Linked DNA regions of Homo sapiens: region 2 is linked to region 1. Evidence: promoter capture Hi-C in human tissues and cell types (Jung and others, 2019). All regions are on one chromosome and are shown on one strand. The core of a region is centred on a gene start or on the middle of the fragment in contact, and the rest is flanking DNA. Distances in the headings are between cores, read along the strand shown. Region 1 holds the start of TULP4 (TUB like protein 4). Region 2 overlaps TULP4 (TUB like protein 4).

Evidence for each region. The method cuts DNA at HindIII sites, captures the fragments that hold promoters and counts their contacts. A contact is called where the count stands out against the background at its distance.
Region 2: a contact is called between a fragment that was not itself captured here and the fragment with the promoter of TULP4 in region 1, in 4 of the 25 tissues and cell types used here (dorsolateral prefrontal cortex, hippocampus, mesenchymal stem cells and 1 more).

Annotation. Positions count from the first base shown.
Region 1 is chr6:158,310,789-158,313,875 of GRCh38, reverse strand. TULP4 (TUB like protein 4) reads right to left here and starts at 1,411. Exons shown (of 14, transcript NM_020245.5): 1 at 1-1,411. The HindIII fragment of the contact is 2,154 bases long and covers 847-3,000 here.
Region 2 is chr6:158,420,102-158,423,249 of GRCh38, reverse strand. All of the region lies in intron 2 of TULP4 (TUB like protein 4), which reads right to left. Among named protein-coding and RNA genes, the nearest start is that of SNORA116, 99 kb to the right of the region's middle. The HindIII fragment of the contact is 7,401 bases long and covers 1-3,148 here.

The DNA.
Region 1 (3,087 bases), core at 162-2,661:
ATTAGAAGGTCAGTATTTTATAAAGATCCACCGAATGCATAGTGAAAAAATTCCTCTATAAAAGATGATGGCAGTCTTCTAAGAAAAGGTAATGCTTAAAAAAACATGGGGTCCATTTGTATTTTCAAGTTCTCAGAGGAAGAACGTGCTGATCCTTTGGAGAAAGAGCATCGTTAATTAAGTGGTGATCAAGAAACGGTTTTCTTCTTTTTACTCCACTTGGTTATTCTCATTCAGCCTGAGATTCCAGTTTAGTGTAATATGATTCCAGAGACAAAGGGTTGCAAATACATAGATTTCAAGTAACTTAAGGCTTTAAGAATCCCTCTAGCTCGAATTTTTCTCTTCAAAAGTTCGGATGCAGAGACAGAATACACAGGATCATCTTCCTTCTGAAGCCACCCTCTAGCATGTTTCCTGAACTAGACAAATTTCTGCTGCTAAAGCTGAAAAAGATTGCATAAAGGGAAAAAAAGGCACACAAACCGTGCAAAACAGACCAGAGTTTGTGCAGACAAGAGTCCAAATTTTAGGAAGAAAAACAGACTCTCTCCTTGTTGTTTCAGAACCAGAAACTTTCCACCTCAAAGCTTGGCCCTGTGTCCCCGGGGAACGCAGGGCTCCATCGGACTGCTCCTCCACCAGCCGGCGCACCCCTCAGTGCCATAGAGGCTAGAAAGAAGGCCCCTTCACTCAAGAGGCAGAATGTTCCAGCGCTCTTACAGTGGTCCCAGTGTTTGCCCTGGGTGAGTCTTAAATCCTCTTGCTGACAAAACAGAGCCACGTGGCAAGATTTTGTTTCTTTTGCTCGTCTCCCTTCTCGCTCCCCCAGTTAGCACTCCCCTTTTCTGCTCCTAAAGATCTTTTTCCATCTTGATGAAAAAAGCTAATCTTAGAATTAAGTCCATCAGGTAATCTTCTCATACGCAAGTCTTCTTGGACTTGACAGGGAAGTTAATCCCTTAAAACAAAAGCAGAAGCCAGAGTCAGATTCCCCCAGCTGTCTCCCTAGAGAGTGATAGTGTTTTGCTGATGGGTGCTTTCCTGTTCACATTCAGAGACTGTCTCCAAACACCACACCACTAGTCCAACAAAAAGAAAGCTTTGCTTGGATTTTCCTTGATATTTATTTAATAATTATTGGTTTCAATTGCTATTTTACAATATTATCCTATAGATGCAGGAAAAAAGGGGGGGAATAATAAATTAAAATTTCTCAAATACAGTTAATTAAGATAGGCAAAGGAATCAGTTCATTATTCAAACTTGTCCCATCATACTTGAACTTGCTTTCCTCTAGCCATAACCACAGTAGGAGTTACTTTTCAGTCTAGAATTTTAATCCGTCCAAATCACCAAACCCACTGAAAAATAAAGTGCAACAAACACTGTGTGAGCCGCTGCAATGTTTGAAATCACACTTCTTTCTCAGTCACCTTCTCACTTAGTTCCTTCTTTAAACTGGAGAATATTTTTGTGGTTTAATCTGCGCAAATTTTTTTTTCTTCTTTTTGCAGACTTTCTTTACCCGTGCAGACCATATGGAAAACTGGCCATTAGTGATGTATTTTTCTCCCCGGGCTCCTGAGCCCACTGGTGTCAAGTTGCTCCATCTGATTCTTAAATTAATTTTCATCAGTTGTAAAACTCTCAAGTGTGCACAAGAATGAGCCTGTCTTCCCGTGTGAATGTGTAAGTACAGAAAGAAGGTTTTAAATGCACATAGACACACACTCTTCAACTGCCATACGAAGCGTCTGCTTCCCCAGTCATTTCAGGAACCATCAGATTATTCACGGCTGGGAGGCCCTGGAGTCTTACAAATCTGTTTAAAAAAAAAAAAAGATATAAAATTTAAAAACTTTAAAACACTGGAAAATAAAGGTTTTAAGAATAATTGCTGAAACTGAAATGAGAGACCCATCTTTACACTTACATCAAATGGAGCTACTGACTGCACTGAATGGTAAAATCCAATAGTGAAAGGATACACCTCACCAGACTCAAGACAACACACAACAAATGAGAGTTCTGCCTGCCACTGATCGTTGTATTCAATTTGTCAGCAGCTGGGCACATCTGAATGAAATCATAACTGCCATTCTTCCACACTGAACTGTACTTTCTAAGAGACTGAACTCCGAATGTGAGACTCTACCCCTCCAGAGACCATGGTCGCTGTTTAAGCAGGCATCCTCAAAAAGGAGACTGAAATGACTCAGGCAAGTTATCTGGATTGATTTTTTCACGATTAATAAAAGATATTCCCTCAAGACACAAAGCAGTAAGGGCCTTTAAAACTCATTCGTCCCTGATGGCTGGCAGGTCTCGGAGCAAAGCGCAGCTGTTTTCTAAGCTTTTATGTGGTCTACCAGCAATAAAGTTCTAGAGAATCTGTCTCTAGCAAATCCATTCCATCTTCTTCCTACTGCCTGAAGTCCAGGCTGCATCACATCCTCTACAAACACGAGAACACTCTGTCCCTAACTTACTCATCCTCCCTGCCCTCCCGCCCCGCCAGTCCTTCCAGAAAGCAGAGTGGACTTTCTCAAATTCAGCAGACTCTCTCAGTCTCCTGGGGCAGCTGAAGCGGCCCAGCCCCATCCCACAGGAACTGGACACTGAAAGGGAAGGGAAGGGCCCAGGTGTTCGCATTTCTAATAAGCTCCCAAGAGATGCTAATGCTGCTGGGCAGGGAACCAGGCTTTGAGAACTACTGGCCTGTAGCATCAAGTCCCAGCAAAAGACTCTACTTTCATCATAATACTAGGACATAATTTGCCTTCTTCCGTGTTCACATTTGTACCCATGGTGCAAAATCAACAGTGGGTCAAACTGCAAGCTCTTTAACACTAATCAAGGTAGAGGTACCAACTGCACCAGTAGTCATAGATTAAAAAAAAGAAAGAAAAAAAAAGCCAGCCTCACTTAAGAACATCTTTGATACGGCAGTAAAAATTATTAATTTTATTAAATATCAGCCCTTGAGTACATGGTTTTTAATACCCTTGTGTCCCAAAATAGTAGGTACACATAAAGTACTTCTGTGGACTACTGAAGCACCATGGTAGTCCCAGGAAAAAGCAT
Region 2 (3,148 bases), core at 631-3,130, 110 kb before region 1:
TTTATTTAGCCCCAGGCTGCAAAGACTTCTAGAGGTTTAGCTTTTACACTTACGTTGCAGGAGTTATTATTGTAGGCAGATAGAGAGGAAAAGGGGTCCTGGGAAGGTTTCTTTCCCCCCCCCCCCCTCTTTTTTGTGGAGGAAGGGGTCTTGCTGTATTGCCCAGGCAGGTCTCCACTTCCTGGGCTCAAGCTATCCTCCGGCCTCTGCCTCCCTGAGAGCTTGGATTACAGGCGTGAGCCTGTAAGTTTCTTAGAGCCAGGCTAGCAACCTTTGATATGCAAATGCAGACCATTAGAAACTGGGTCCATCCAACATGGCGATTCGGGCGCCTTCCGGCCCTTGTCCCAGGTGTTCCTGGCAACATGGCCGCCCCCACATATCCCCACGTGTGTGGAACATCCTTGGCGTCCTGCATTTGCATATTTAAAGGCTGGGGTGGGAGGGCCAGCGTTTTCCGCAGGCTACATGGTGAATCACATGCCTGGTCAAACCAATCCCCTGAGCCCTATGCAAATCTGACATCGCCTCCTTCAGCCTCTGCATATAGACCTGGCTGGTATCCACCGCACTTGGGGACCTCCTCTTTCGGCTTTGGAGCCTCCTCTCCCTCTATCTCTGTATGGGGGAGCCTCTTCCTTCTGCCTTCCGCTTCCTTCTTGTCTATTAAACTCTCCGCTCCTTAAAACCGCTCCACATGTGTCCGTGTTTTGTCTAAACTGGCCTGAGAATTAAGAACCCTGGTGTTCCTCCACTCACTGGAGCCGTATCACTTATCTCTGATTCATCTAGAGTTAATTTTTATGCACGGTGTGAGGTAAGAATCAAGGTTTTCTTTTTAAAAAATACAGATATTCAGTTGTTTCAGCACCATTTGTTGAAAAGATTTACCTTTCCCCCATTGAACTACCTGCATCTTATAATTTACGTTTGGTTACCTTGTAATCTCTATTTATAGCTATGCCCAATTTTTCATTCATAAAATTGTTTATTTCTGTGTTCTTCTCTTGATCAGTTTTGCAAGACATCTGTCTATTTTGTTGATTTGTTTCCAAAGAACTAATTTTTGGATTTGTTGATCTCTACCTTATCATTTTTCCCTATTGTACTAATTTTCACTTTCATTTTTATTATTTCTTACTTTTTCTTTCATTGGATTTACTCTCCTTTTCAATTAATAATATTTTAAGATAAATACCTATCTGACCAATGATCACAGTTTTATTGCTAATATAAGTAATTAAGGATATACATTTCTCTCACAGCACCACTTTAATCATATCTCACAAATTCCGGTATACAATGAAGGACTAAATTCTTATTCTTTTACCTTGCCCAAATTCCTATCTAAGGGGTCTGGGGAGTCATGCCCTACAAATCATAAACTCTCATCACATAGGTTGGGTTTTATTTAACACTATATATCATGATTTACTTTCCAACCTCACTCTGGCGTAACATTACAAGACAAGAAAATAAAAATATTTTACCCCAAAACGTGCTTCTTTGCCATATTTTGAAATGGCCCTACAAAGCTGTTCTTTGTGGGGAAAAATTTGCATCTGTAAAGAATCTCTATTAACATCGCTAGATCTTTTGATTCCAGACCCTCCCAATTCTAAAGAGACTACCTAAAATCTGAATAGGAAACATTTGTCATCCTACTGTCTCTAAGGACAGCCACTATAAGACTGCAAAAGAACTTTGGGCTGCACAAAATTTTATTTTAACCTGAACATTATCTTTCTATCAATCCCGGGTCTTCAGACAAACTCAACCAATTGTCAACTAGAAAATATTTAAATTCACCATAGCCTGGAACCTCCCGGACCCCTTTGAGTTGTTCTGCCTTTCTGGACCAAACCAATGTATTTCTTTTTTTTTTTTTGAGACGGAGCCCCGCTCTGTGGCCCAGGCTGGAGTGCAGTGGCGCGATCTCGGCTCACTGCAAGCTCCGCCTCCCGGGTTCACGCCATTCTCCTGCCTCAGCCTCCCGAGTAGCTGGGACTACAGGCGCGTGCCACCACGCCTGGCTAATTTTTTTGTATTTTTAGTAGACACAGGGTTTCACCGTGTTAGCCAGGATGGTCTTGATCTCTTGACCTCGTGATCCGCCCACCTCAGCCTCCCAAAGTGCTGGGATTACAGGCGTGAGCCACCGCGCCCGGCCACCAATGCATTTCTTAAATGTATTTGATTAATGTCTCACGCCTCTCCAAAGTGTATAAAAACCAAACTGCGGCCCGACCACTTTGGGCACATGTTCTCAGGACTTCCTGAGGGCTGTGTCATGGGCCATGGTCACTCATGTTTGGCTCAGAATAAATCTCTTCAAATATTTTACAGAGTTCGACGCTTTGTTGACATGTTTTCATTATAATTTAGATCTAGGATTTTATAAATGTCTATTAAACATATTCTGTAAACCATGAGCTATTTAACAATATATTTTAAAATGCCTAAATAGGCCGGGCGAGGTGGCTCACGCCTGTAGTCCCAGCACTTTGGGAGGATGTGGAAGGTGGATCACCTGAGGTCAGGAGTTTGAGACCCACCTGGCCAACATGGTGAAACCTCGTCTCTACTAAAAAAAAACAAAAATTAGCCAGGTGTAGTGGCGGGTGCCTGTAATCCCAGCTACTCTGGAGGCTGAGACAGGAGAATCGCTTGAACCCGGGAGGCAAGGATTGCAGTGAGCCGAGATGGCGCCATTGCACTCCAGCCTAGGCAACAAGAATGAAACTCGGTCAGAAAACAAAACAAAACAAAAAACAGACAGGGATCTCTTATCTCGTCGTTATTAACTTCTAACCCAGTTGCACTGTGTTCAGAGATCGTGGTCTATAATCATCATGCCTGACACTGGAAATCTGTTTTTTATTTAAGTCGTAGAACAGGGATTGGCAAGCTATGGCCTGTGAGCCAAATCTGACCTGTCACCTATTTTTGTATGGCCCACAAACTGAGAATGGTTTTAAGTGGTTGAGAAGAAAAAAATCAAAAGAAGAATGATATTTTGTTATTTGAAATTACATAAAATTCAAATTTCAGTGTTCATAAATCAAATTTTAAATTTTGTCAATAAAAATCTTTTGGAAATCTGATTTTCCTCTTGTTATATGATACCTATATAATATCCTCAATTTTG